Linked DNA regions of Homo sapiens: region 1 is linked to region 2. Evidence: promoter capture Hi-C in human tissues and cell types (Jung and others, 2019). All regions are on one chromosome and are shown on one strand. The core of a region is centred on a gene start or on the middle of the fragment in contact, and the rest is flanking DNA. Distances in the headings are between cores, read along the strand shown. Region 1 overlaps TMEM9 (transmembrane protein 9). Region 2 holds the start of LAD1 (ladinin 1).

What was found. Contacts are between HindIII fragments. The study calls those that stand out against the background at their distance.
Region 1: a contact is called between a fragment that was not itself captured here and the fragment with the promoter of LAD1 in region 2, in 1 of the 25 tissues and cell types used here (IMR-90 fibroblasts).

Annotation. Positions count from the first base shown.
Region 1 is chr1:201,144,497-201,150,900 of GRCh38, reverse strand. TMEM9 (transmembrane protein 9) reads left to right here. Exons shown (of 5, transcript NM_001288565.2): 3 at 4,053-4,161. Among named protein-coding and RNA genes, the nearest start is that of TMEM9, 6.8 kb to the left of the region's middle. The HindIII fragment of the contact is 5,250 bases long and covers 2,227-6,404 here.
Region 2 is chr1:201,397,126-201,403,755 of GRCh38, reverse strand. LAD1 (ladinin 1) reads left to right here and starts at 4,432. Exons shown (of 10, transcript NM_005558.4): 1 at 4,432-4,487. The coding sequence starts at 4,450. It overlaps LOC101929343 (a long non-coding RNA gene), which reads right to left and starts at 4,265. Exons shown (of 2, transcript XR_241172.3): 1 at 3,966-4,265; 2 at 1-2,963. RefSeq lists an enhancer at 4,074-4,736. The HindIII fragment of the contact is 11,842 bases long and covers 1-6,630 here.

The DNA.
Region 1 (6,404 bases), core at 3,602-6,101, 250 kb after region 2:
CACTGTAGAAGAGATCAACATCAGATGAGAGGTCCGGGTCAGTGCTGCCTCTCCTGCTTTCTCAAAGCAGATGAGCTTTGAGAAAATACACATTTCCAGTACCACCACCACTGCTCGATTTTGATTCTTCAAATACGGAGTGAGGGTGAGGGGAGGCAGTAACCTTTCTTTCCTTTGGTGCTTAGGATGCAGTTGATCCAGAGCAACACTCGAGAATTTTGAAACTAGTTGAATTTCCAACTCTGAGACTGTCGGTGATTTTCTGAGAGGCAGTCTAGTTAGATAGACAGACTCTGTGTTCCACCTTCCTGACTTCAAATTTAGCTTAGCTGCTTGTTAATTGTGTGACAAATTACTTAATCTCCACTGCACTTTGATTTCCTTATCTATAAATAGTGGCAGTATTTTCTGTGTTAAGTATGTACGTGTTTGTGTGTGTGTTGTGCGTGTATGTGCACAGGTCAGTAACTATAGCACTTAGAACAATACCTGGCACACAGTAAATGCTTATATAAATGTTAGCTGATATTAATGTATATTATCATGCCTTACTGGTGGCCACATAGATAGTCATGGTCAAACTTACACCACAGACTGAGAAAATGGGCTCCTCCTGAAGCACTAGCCTTCTACTTAGGAGAATTCCAAGTAACCCCCTTGTATCTTGTGGTTATAGTTCAAATAGCATCAGTAAAAACTTAGATGGGCTGTCTTAGCCCTTCACCAGATAACAAGGCTATATCCCAAACTCCTTATGCAGGCAGACACTTGCAAATTTAGGAACACTCTCTCTGTCCTGGAGCTATAGATGGCCTGAAAACCCAAGGTTGGATGCCTGCAGAGGACGGAGTCCTGTCTAGACCTCTCAGGCTGTAGTTTATCTCCTTCTTCCCCTCAGAAGTCAGAATTAAGGGGCTGCTTGATGAATAGCCTTACATCAGGAACCTCAGGGCAGCTCCATTAAGGGTGGTGGGTGTAAACTGAGGCTGGAGGAAAGACTCCAGGATTCTAGGACCCAGTGACACTGACCTTGACTGGGAGTCATCCTGTGCTTGCCTGGAGCCTCTTAAGGGTAGGGTGGGGCCTTGACATTGATCTGAGTACCTCAGTGCTAGGGTTAGAGGAGGCCAGTTTGAGTGGGTCTTCTGGTCTCTGCCACATTTTCACTTTGCTGTCACGTTGGTCCATGCTAAAGAACACTTGCACCCTTCTCCTTGGTTGTGCAGAGTAAAGCCAGAATCATCTGACATGCGGTCCTCAGGTTTAATGGCCAAGCCATGTATGTTCCTGTGTTTACAGGTATCCTGCCACCTAGTGTTGAGAGATTATGACCATATGTGCATAAAAAGGCAAAAACCCCAGCTTTGCCCCATTGGTGGGTCCGGCAAGGAGATGTGTTATTAGAGACACTCCCAGAGCAGGAAAGCACTGAATAAGTTGGCTAGTTCCTTGCCTTTCAAACTTGTTAAAATAGAACTTCTCTGCAAACAAAATCCGTTTTGGAAACAAAATCTATAAAACATAAAAGTCGGAATTGCTCTGCCTGAGAGGGAACTGTCCCTCAGCCCCTCCCTGACTACCACCCCACCGTACAGTGGTTCCTGTGGGTCCCAAAAGAGTACAGTTTGAAAGACACTGACCAAGTTCAGTCTCCATTTATAAATGAGGGAACCGAGGCCTGGAGAAGTTAAATAAATTGCCCCCAATCACAGGAGAGTTGGAGACAGCAGAACTATTTCAGCTCCTTATTGCTGTTCCCCTGGGTAGCAAGATCCCACATTGAAGAACTCAGGTCGCCCTTCCAAACTGCCCCTGACACCTTGGCCTTGTGAGAAATCCATAGATTCCACTGCAATACTGGTATGACCTTCTAGACCCAGGACCCAGTGTAGCTCAGGTAAGGGAGGAATCTGGAGGCTTGTAGAGACTTCCTGGAGAAGGGAAGATGGCATTGCCTCTGGACAGGAATGGCAGCCAAGTGCCCTGGGTGACCCTTTTTCCGCTGCTCCCAGCGGAAGCAGCATGCAAGGCCTGAAAGCAGTACTTCCGGTTACAACAGGGGAGACCTGCTCAGAGCAGGGAATAACATGTTGGACACAGAGGTGGAACTGGATCATGAAAGGTTTAGATAAACTCATGTATGCCACATATGGCTTTTTGGGAGAACAGAGTCCTTTAGAGCACATCCCATTCTTAATCCAACACATGGTCTTTATATCACACACCCTTGATGCTTCTGCCAGAAACCCAGCCCTGTAGCTCAGAAGGGAGCTATGCTTGACTCTTGCAGGACTCCTGTCAGAGCTGGAAGGGCCTTTTAAAGATTATCCGGTGCAACCGCTTTATCTCAAAGAGAAGAGAACGGGCCCAGGGTATAGACACTTGGTGGCAGAGCCAGGACAGAGCCCAGGTGCATTGCAGCATGACACCTGCTTCACCTCTGCACACCTCCAAGGGGTTTGGATTTTTCCATTGGTAGTAATGAAGGTGCATTCTGTAGAGTTTTTTGCTTTGTCAGTGTGGTCCCTGAACCAAACAGGTTGGAACCATGCTGATCTGAGGAAGGCTGGGAATGAGAGGCCTGAGACAAGCCAGGTACCAGCCCAGGCCCCACTGAGGCTGAGTCAGAAGTAAAGACCTGTGGCTGAGGGTCTAGATTTGGGTTCTGGCCTCACTACCACTATGGAGATGCCACTTTGCCTCCTAAGCCTCTTTCCCTGTTTTTAGATGTGGAACCTATGATCTTTATCCCACCTTACGCAAGAGTGCTGTTAGATGAAAGTGGGTCTACTCTTCCTTTGGGAATCATGTAGTTACTAAGCCTGCTCTGGCCAGCACCCAGCTAGGTACTGGGAATATGGAGATGTATAAGACATAACCCTGTGTTCAAGGAACGTACATCTCCTGGGGAGACAGCACGAATAAAGATTGGATTACAATGCAGTGCATTGGCGGGGGGTTGGGGGGAGCTGGCTATTGGGCACAGGTGGCTAAGCTGAGAGTTAAAAGATGAGGTGGCAAAGCCATGCCCTCCTGGTGAGAGTGTGGGTGTGGCTCCTTCAGAGAGCAGCCTGGCAGATCCGTGTGGCTGGAGGTTGGGAAAGTGGGTGAGGGAGGCGTAGCAAGAGATGGAACTGGAGTGAGGTGGGTTGGGACCCCTGGCAGAGCAATTGAGTTAGCATTGGCCCTAGGGGCTCTGTGGAGGCACTGACCGGGCCTAAGCTGGGGAATGACATGACCAGAGTTGCATTCTGGAAAACCACTTGGCTGCCGTGGGAAGGTAGTATGTGTTAGAAAGGCCAAACTCGAGGCAGGAGGGCAGCGCGGAGGCTGGTGCGGTTGTCCGAGGAAGATAGGATGAGGGCCTCAGCTAAGACACAGCAGTGGGAGAGAATAAAGGAGATGGATTCTAGGAATTTTTAGGGAAGTAAAATCACTGGCCTTTGGTGATTTTACTTAGATGAGAGGAAGGCAGTGTCAAAGATGATTTCCAGGGTTTGACCCGGACAGTGAAGTGGACGGTAGAAGTGTTCTCTCTGCCATTGCAAATGGGGAGCCAGTTTGCAGGAGTAGGGAGTTGAGGGCAAAGGGTGTGCAGGGGCGGGTGTAGAGTTCATGGTCTCTATGGGACATGCACATAGTGACTCCTGTAGCTCATAGAGGAGAGCGGCCCTGGCTGGAGATTCTGATCTAAGATCCGTCAGCTTCTGAGTTGAACCTTTGGGACAGATGAGCACATGCCGGGAGAACATAGCATGAGATGAGGAAGGCGGCTGGGGGTAGAACCCTGGGAACGTTGATGGTTTTGGAGCCAGCCCTGTAGGCAGTTTGGAGAGCTGGTTTTGATGTGTAAGGGGCATGGGCTGTGAGGCTGTGGGTTAGGAAGGGTTTCTGCCAGCCTAATCCTTTATAAGCCCTTGGCCCTCTCTGGGAGCACCCTTCACCTTTGCCTAGCCCCTACCTCTCAGCTCCCCTGGCTACCTGCTTCTCTGGTCTTGAGGCTCTAAGACGTGGTGGCCCTGCCTCGACAGCCCTGTCTCTCTCTGTTGTAGCAACTGCCTGCACGTGGTGGAGCCCATGCCAGTGCCTGGCCATGACGTGGAGGCCTACTGCCTGCTGTGCGAGTGCAGGTACGAGGAGCGCAGCACCACCACCATCAAGGTAACGCCAGGGTCTCAGGAAGCCAGTGGGATTCCCACACGCCATTCTCCAATCGCAGACTGGCCTACACCCACAGTTTTTCACTTTATTCTGGAATGTCCCAATGGCTATGAGACTGGCTTCTAGGCTGGCCTAGTGCAGACACTGGGACCCACATCCCACACCTTCCTGGAGCCAGCTCCCTTCTCTGCTCTCTTTCCAGTAGTTACCATTACAGTGAGAGGGGAGAGCCCTGGGAGAGCTGCTGGAGACTCCTTTTTCCCTGCATTCTTTACAGTTTATTTCGTTCCTCTCCCTTCTTCTATTCATCCAGTAAATCTCTTTTCGGTGCCTGCTATATTCTGGGCAAGATGCTGCCAATGGGGAGGTTGGGCTGCCCTCCTGGAGCTTAGTCTAATTAAGCTTCCAAAGTGACTAAGCTCCTCTAAAAAGCATCAGAGCTGTGGACTAGGGCTGGGTGTTGGGTGCTGGGAGAACATCAGATTGGTTCTTTTGTGTTTTCCTGAACCACCTTCTCATTGATCATTTGGGTGAATTCAGGAAAGAGATGATAGACACAGTCACCACCATAGACGTCACGAGGTGTCTGTTCATTCCTGCACCAGGCAGAACTTCCCGTGTCTTCTAGAGGCTGTGAAGCCGCCCTAGCAGAGACCGTCATGACCCCCAGCCCCCCAGTGCGGCTTCCTAGTCCAGGTTCTAACAATCCTGGGCCAGGCACCTGGCACACACAGTACTCACTGATTACATAGCCATTTCTTTTTTTGTTTGTTTTTTAGAGACTGGGTCTGACTCTGTTGCCTATGCTGTAGTCCAGTGGCACGATCACAGCTCACTGCAGCTCTGACCTCCCAGGCCCATGCAACCCTCCCACCTCAGCCTCCTGATTAGCTAGGACCACAGGTGCACATCACCACACCCAGCTAATTTTTTAAATTTTTGGTAGAGACAGGGTCTCACTGTCTTGCCCAGGCTTGTCTCGAACTCCTGGCCTCAAGCACTGCTCCAGCCTTGGCTTCCCGAAGTGCTGGGATTATAGGTGTGAGCTCCATGCCTGGCCTAATGTAGCCCTTTCTGTTCCAGTTTGTAGCATTTTTCTGCTTGTCCTTTGAAGAGTCTATAAATAGCATTGGAAAATAATTCTCATATTTAAAGGCACTGCTGGGTCCTCCATCAGGTTTCTCCTTTCGAGGCACATTTAGGGGGCGGTGGTCTTCACTGCTGTCCTTCCTGCCTATTCCAGGGAGCCCTGTGCTGTAGCTCCTCTGTGTTCTCACCACTCAGGGAAAAAGCAGCTGTCTGTCCTTCACTCCCAGCCAGTGCCCTGTGCAGACCCAACTCCTTTCATCCACCTGAGGCAGCCCCTCCTGCAACTGTCATTCTCCTTCTCTGAACTTGCTCCAGTGGGCCTCACCCTCCAGGGACCAGATGCCTGAGACCTGAAATTCAGAGCCAGATGTCACCGCTGCTCCCTGTTTGGCCGGGAGGGAACTTCCTGGCATGGGGACCTCATCAGATACAACTTCCTAATCCCTCGTGTTTCCCCCAGTCCTCCTACCTAGGAGGCTCCCCTCAACTTCAGCCTATTGAAGACCCAGCCTCTGTTCTCCTTCCGCCTTCCTGGGGTACAGGTGAGGTCTGATTATTTGCCCTGTTTAAACAGGCGTGAACGCGGTGCCCCAATCAGGTGGGACATTGGTCCAGTGGAACTTGGCTATTGGCTGAGCGGGGCACCCAGCTTGAAAGTCCTGAGGTTCTTTTTTTCACTCTTCTTCACAGTCTAGGTAGGGCAGGGCTGAGATCAGAAGCCGGCAATGGCCAGGCATTGTGGAATTAGGAAAAGCATTTGAGAGGGAGTCAGCAAGTCTGGGTTTGAGTCACACCTCCACCATCTGGTAGCCTTGGGATCACAGGTGATCTAGCCCAGCAGTTCTCAATCAGATGATTACAGCCCCCCCAGGGGGCATTTAGAGGTGGGTGAAGGTGCTTTTGTGGTCCCAATAACAGGTGTATTACCAACACTGTTACAGGGACCATGGATGCTAAATGTCCCACCCAAAATCCCAGAGCACCCACATTGAGAAACATTGAATTTGCCTCATTAAATCTGTCTTTTCTGTAAAAACAAAATGACTCCAGCTTGTGAAGCACTGTGTATGTAAGAGATTCGTGGAGTTGTTGTTCTACCCTTGGCTTTCCCCTCCCTGCAGAGGGGCTGATGGGAGGGCAGGCGTGACCTTCAC
Region 2 (6,630 bases), core at 3,183-5,682:
GCATTTTGCTTTTTCCCCTTCAATGTTAAGGTTGTAAATTCATCCCTATTGATAATTGTAGTTCATTCATTTTCACTGCCATGAAATGATGAAATGATGAAAACACCATTCATTCCCTTTCCTGCTGATAGACATTTAGATCTCTGCCACTACCAATTGTGCTGATTTGAATATTCATGAGTCTCACTTCTGATGCTCATGTTCAAGAGCTTCTCTACCCAGGAGTGCAACTGTTGGGTCGACAAGAATGACATCCCCACCTTTGCTAGTTGTACCACTTACACTCCCATCAACAACTATGACAGTTGCTGATGCTCCACATCCTGGTTTTGGCAGATCCTGGAGACCAGAGATCCTGGATACTTAACCTCACCTGATCTCAGCTTCTTCCTGACTCAGCTTCCAAATGTTACTCTTGGCAGGGGCTCTCAGGCTATTTGGGTTTTCCTGTTCTTTCCAAATCAAGTTAGTGCAATTCTCTAAACCTTTATTAAGCACCAACTCTGCCAGGCATAGTATTGAGGGGATACTGAGGCAAATAAGACATTCTTTTTCTTCTCAAGGCACCCACAAGATGCTTGGGGAGCCAGGGCATGGGCACAGATAACTTGAACTCCAACCTCGCTGCTCACAAGGAGTCATTCCCTCCTCCTTCCTACTCAGCAAGGGCCCTTGCATGCTATGGAAAACACAATGCAAAGCTGTCTCCTGAGCTCCCCCGCTCCAACACCCAACCATCTATTGGGCAGCTCCATCCGGCTGTCTTCAGGGATGTTAAATTCAAATGAGTAGAGGCCAAGGATGCTGGTGACCATCTCACAATGCACAGACAGCCCCCGACAAGGAATTATCAGGCTGAAATGGCCATAATGCTGAGGCTGAGAAACCCTCGGTGGTCTAAAGTCACCCCTCCCTAGATCTCCTGCTCTCACATCCCTGTCTCATCAATGGCATCTCATTCACCCAGTCCCTCCAGCAGGGAGATGGGAGTCACCTAGATTTCTCCTCCCTCACAAGCCGTAGTCAATCAACTCAGTCCTGGCCATCCAGCCTTCCAAAACTCCTGCCAACACCTTCTCCTCCCCATCCTCCTGGTGCCCTTGCTCAGGGCCTTCATTTCTTTTGTTGACTATAAAAAATAGCCCCCTAAGCTGTCTCCCTTCCAGTGTGATCTCTTGCCACACTGCCTCCAAACCCTTCTCATTTTCTATATTCAACTTAATTCTACAGGATAAAGGCTTTTTTTTTTTTTTGAGACAGAGTCTTGCTCTGTTGCCAAGGCTGGAGTGCAGTGCAGTTCAGTGGTGTGATCTTGGCACACTGCAATCTCTGCCTCCTAGGTTCAAGTGATTCTTTTGCCTCAGCCTCCCAAATAGCTGGGATTACAGATGTGTGCCACCACGCCCAGCTCATTTTTTGTATTTTTAGTAGAGATGGGGTTTTGCCATGTTGCCCAGGCTGGTCTTGAACTCCTGACCTCAAGTGATCTGCCCGCCTCAGCCTCCTAAAATGCTGGGATTACACGTGTGAGTCTCCATAACCGGCCAAGGCTGACTGACTCTTTAGCACAACACACAAAGTCCTTACTACCTGTCTCCAACCTTTCTTTTCAGCCTTGGAAGGGGCTCAATGCTTCACGCAGACTAGTCTTCTCTCTGTTCCACACACACCTTTCATGTTTATGTCCCAATGTCTTTGTTTATGCTGTGTCCTATAGCTGGATGCCCTTACACCCTTTCTGACAGTTGAATTCCACTTACCCTTCAAGGCCCAACTTAGATGTTCTTTCTTGTGTGAAGACTTCCCCAATCCCTCCTGATGACACAATTTCCATTTTTAATCACAGTCTGACTTGAATGAGGCTCGGGGTATATGTGTGCTTGTGTATGTGTGTGTGTTCACCAGCATGTGTTTGTCTTCACTGATAGACTGAGAATGTCCTGAGGTCAGGAACCGAGTCCTTATCATCTTTGTGTCACTGAATGTCAAAGCCACTTGTGATTATAGTGGGTAGAATGAATTATAATGGGTAGAACACATCCCAAAAAAGATGTGTTCAATTCATAACTTCTGGTACCTGTGAATGTGACCTCATTTGGAAATAGGGTATTTGCAGGCATAATCAAGCTAAAATGAGGTCATACTAAATTAGGGTGGAGGGATACTTGAACACAAACAAGAGACACAGGCAGAATGCTGTGTGACAAGAGAGGCAAATCTTGGAGTAATGCAGCTGTATGCCAAGGAGCTCTGGGAAGAAGCAAGGAAGGATTCTCCTCTGGAGCCTTTGGAGAGAGGCTGGCTGTGCTCACATCTTCATGGCAGACTTCTAACCTTCAGAACTGTGAGAGAGTAAACTTCTGTTGTTTAAAGCCATCCAGTTTGTGGCACTTCATCACGGGAGCCCCGGGAAATGGATGCACTGATCCAGCACCAAGTACAGTAGCTGGCACTTAGAAAGTATCCCATAAATGTACAGTGTCTGATCTCAAGGAACTTTCTGGGCATTGACATATATGTCATTCACTTTTCCTTACTTCTAGGGTTGTCTGCATACAAACTTTCCATGTCTTTGGGCTTTTATATCTGTAGAGAGGCTGTTAGATTTTGGGCTTTTAGAAACAGGACTGTTCCTGCCTTCGTGAAGTGTCCCTGGCATGACCAGGCTTCAGATGACTTCATAGGAGTATTTCTCTTCCTGTGTTGAGGTGTCAGCACTGACCAGCCATGGGAAGAACATTCAGTAGGTCCCTAGGGAGACAGCAGCTTCCCTGACAGTGTCAGGCCCCGGGTCAGAGGATCCAGGGACCTAGACTATTGGGGTCCCCTCTTTCTCTTTTCCTGTAAGCAGCATACAGCTCCAGGGCCTGCCTTGGCCTCTGTTCAGAACTCCCTGGAGCCTTGTCGATATTCATCTGTGCACTCCAATGTCACTAGCAGGGAACTCATATGATTTCCACAACCTGGAAGGAAGCAGAGCAAGGTATCGTAACATCCACTCCACAGATAAGGAAACTGAAGGAGTTTGTCCCAAGTCACACAGTTCACAAATGTCAGAATCAGAGCTCAAGTGTGCAAGTTACCAGTCCAGTTCTCATGTCCTGGACCTCGTCCCACCCTTGCCAAGAAGGAAGGCTCCCTGGAGGAGGGGGTACTTCGGGAGGGGGAATCTCAACAGGCTGGCTGTGTCTGTGTTTCCAGGCTTCTGCCCGGCAGCTAGCTTGCCCTTTGCCGTGAGATCTCAGAGCTGGAAGGCCTGACATGAGCACCAAAGAGAGGCTGAGGCTGGGCAGCGAGGCCCAGGAGCATGAGGGCAGTTCTGGCTCTGGCTCAGGCTCCCTTTTGATATTCTCATCCTGGCGCTGGGGCTGTGCCTCCTTCCTCTCAGGGCAGGAACAGCAACTGTGCGCTGACCCTGCAGTTCAGATCCATCAGGGAAGATAAGATTCCCCATGCTCAACGCCTGACCCTCTCTTAGCCCAAGCCCACCTGAGGCTGGTTCCTGGATAGAAAGCACCTGGCCCCGCACCAGCCCAGATGGGCACCTAAAGGGAGCCAGGTGGTGTCAGGGGTGCCTGAGCTGTCTCACGGTGCTCCAAAATTCGAGTCCTAGATATCTGTGTTTAATCTTTCCTTGGGGAAGAAAAACTGAGCTTCCTCTGCCCTTATTATACACCCTGCCACTCTAGCCCAAAGTCCAGTATCAGGGAGCAAGGACAGTGCCTTTGACATATTTGTGCTTTCACAAATGTTTGCTGAATTGAGTCTAAGATTCTCCCTTTGGGTGGGGCTGGGTCTACCAGGGGCATGTTTTGTGTGCAGCTCAGAAAGCAATGCCTCATTCATCTCAGCGAGGCCTACTGGGACGGTGGGCCCGGGTGGGTTCCGAAGCCAGGGAGTGGGGAGGGCGCTCCCTGCGAAGGGGCCCCGAAGGCGCGGGCGCTCTAGACCCGAGATCACAGTACCTGCGCTAACTTTTCCGCTCGGCTTCTTGCTCTTGAGCGTCTCCGGGCTAAGTCGGGTTCCCGGCAGGGGTCCCCGCCCCCAGCCCAGCTCCTCGGCACCCCGGGCCGCGGCACAGCGCGGGGAGGCGTCCCAGCGCCAAGCTGGTCGGACTGGTTCTGAGCAGGAAGTCTCCCGCCCTCGCCCCGGGCAGCCGACCAGCCCCACGCCGGCCCCGGGCGTCCGTCGTTCGGTCCCGCGATCCGTCCGACGGTCCACCCAGTGCTTGCGGCCTCGCGGCCGGGCCGGCCTGGGCTGCAATCAATGCGGCTTTGTCTGGGACGCCCACATCCCAGAGGCCATTCCCGGGTCGGCAAATCGGAGCGCGGCCGGGGCGCGCGGGGGTGAGATAAGCGGCCATGTGATCCCACCTGGGCTGGAAGGGGAGGGGCGCCAGGTGAGGCGGCGGCCGGCGGGGCGCGGGCGGCCACGCGGGGCTCCTGCAGCATGGCTGTCAGCAGGAAGGACTGGTCCGCGCTGTCCAGGTGAGCGCCGGAGGGAGCCGGGAGGGGCGGGGGGTCGGCGGGGAGCCTTTGGGTCTCCTCTCCTCGGGGCACCGGCCTCCTCCCCGCCTGGGACCCTGACACTGAGGCTGGATCCTGGTCTTGCTGCGACTCGCGGGAGACAGGATTGGGGCCAAACTCGGGACCCCTGAGGTTACAGGGTGGGTCTTCTCCCCTCGGGGCCTGAGGCCCCACACAGGGTGCTTAGGGGAAGGCTGGTCCTCAGTCTGGACGCCCGCTGGGATATGGCCCCCCCTGTGGAAGGTGGAAGCAGGAAGGAACGTTTTGGGGGATTGTGGAGGTGTTCAGGAGTAACCTCCAAGCCTCATTCCTGAGAGAAGCCTCTCTCACTGCCCCCGTGTGTCTCTGGCGGAGAGGACCCCTGGGAGGTGTCCCACAGCCCCTCTTGGGAGGGGGAGCAGGGAGAGCCGTCTTGGAGGGGTCAGTGAAGAGGACTGGAGGGAAGCAGACCCGTCTCCCACTAAGGACGCTCAGAATCTCAGCATGGCATTTTGGGGTGGCATCTGGGCTGGGAACCTTAAGATAGTTGCCATCCCCATCTGTGCTGCTGCAATCTTTACTTGTACACTGGTCTCCTAAAGGGTCGGGGATGAGGCATCCTACCCCTGCCTGCTGGACATCCCATCAGGGTCCGAGAGGCCTGGGGAAGGCGGGTGTTCAGAAGGCAGCACCCCTCATGGAGATTGGTGACCTCTAGCGACTTCTCTTGGAGCGACCCTGCACCTCTGCCAAGAAGGCCCCCTGTGAGCATTTTCACCTCATTCCTCCACTGGGCGCCCCCGTCCCCCATCTTGTCCCTAAGGAAACTGAGGCTCCTGCGGTAGCCCAGAGCTGGAGCCTGCTCTTTTGATCCCTTTCTAGCCAGGTAGATATTAGCCTCTTAGCTCCTCCCAGGTGGGCATTTGGGTCTTGGCCTTTCCTGAGCCAGGGCTATCTCTGCCAGGTGCAGACCCTCCAGCCATTTGGGTCCTGTAGGCTTTCCCCAGCAAGGCATCTTTCACAGGTTTTTCCAGTGCTCTAGTATGTCCTCTACCCCGCTCCTGCCCTCCCTTAATAAGGGCTCCAGAACTACCTCATTGTCTCAGGCTTAGCCTCTCCATAGCAGCTCATCGCCTGGGACTGGGGGGCCACCTCCCCAGACCCTCAAGACCTCACAGTGCTCTGAAGCACTGTGGGCAGCCCATGGGCTCTAGAGAGGGGAAAAGGTAAGCCCCACGAATGGAGGGAACTCAGTGCTCTGGAAAAGAAACCCAGGCTGCTATAGAGGAAGGTCTATGCTGAGGGTGCGGCTGAGGAGTCAAGGTCTTGGACTTTGCATGTGGGTCAGTGTGCCTGGGGGTTGATGTGGGAGTGTCTTTGCTTCTAGATGTGGGCCTACCTGTGCCTATGAATGTATGCTTATGTGTGTGTGTGTGTGTGGCATACTTGTGGACAAGTGTGTTTATGGCCTATGAAGAGATGACACATCTGTGTGGGGAGCTGGTTCTTATGTTGCTGAGTCTTGAGTTTGTCAGTCTGCATATGTTCAGTTGAACTGTTTATTGAAGACCTCAGTACTGTGCATTGGGTTAAAAATACAAACCAGACACTCCTTCTTCAGAAGTTCATAGTCTGGTGGGATATATGTGATTTTGTGTCTGAAAGCATGCCTGGATATGCATGGGGGGGTGTGTGTGTGTGGGGAGGCAGCTGGGGCACTGGAACTTTGAAAATGGGAGCAAGGTCTGGCCTAAGCTTGTCCACTGCTCAGATGGACATGGACTCATGTGGCTACAGCCAAGTTCCCACAAGATGTCCAGGGTAAGTGCCAGGAAGCTCTGGGGAACAGTCCTGCCACAGGGGCCCCTGGCCTGCCCTCCCTGCCGGGTCCCAGCCCTCATAGAGCCCTGTGGGCAGACGCAGCTGCTGCCAACAGTCACCCTGATGAGGCACCTGGAACAGAGGACCGCTCCCGCTCCGCTCCCTGGGTGAACAAGCCTCAGCGGGCAGGCAGGAAAGGGCTGTGAGTCACTGTCAACAGAGCCTCCTGGGCTGGGGAGGACCGTGCTAGGGTGTGACAGCACGGTCCCAGGTGGGGAGGTGGATGGAGAGGTGGGTGGGTAGC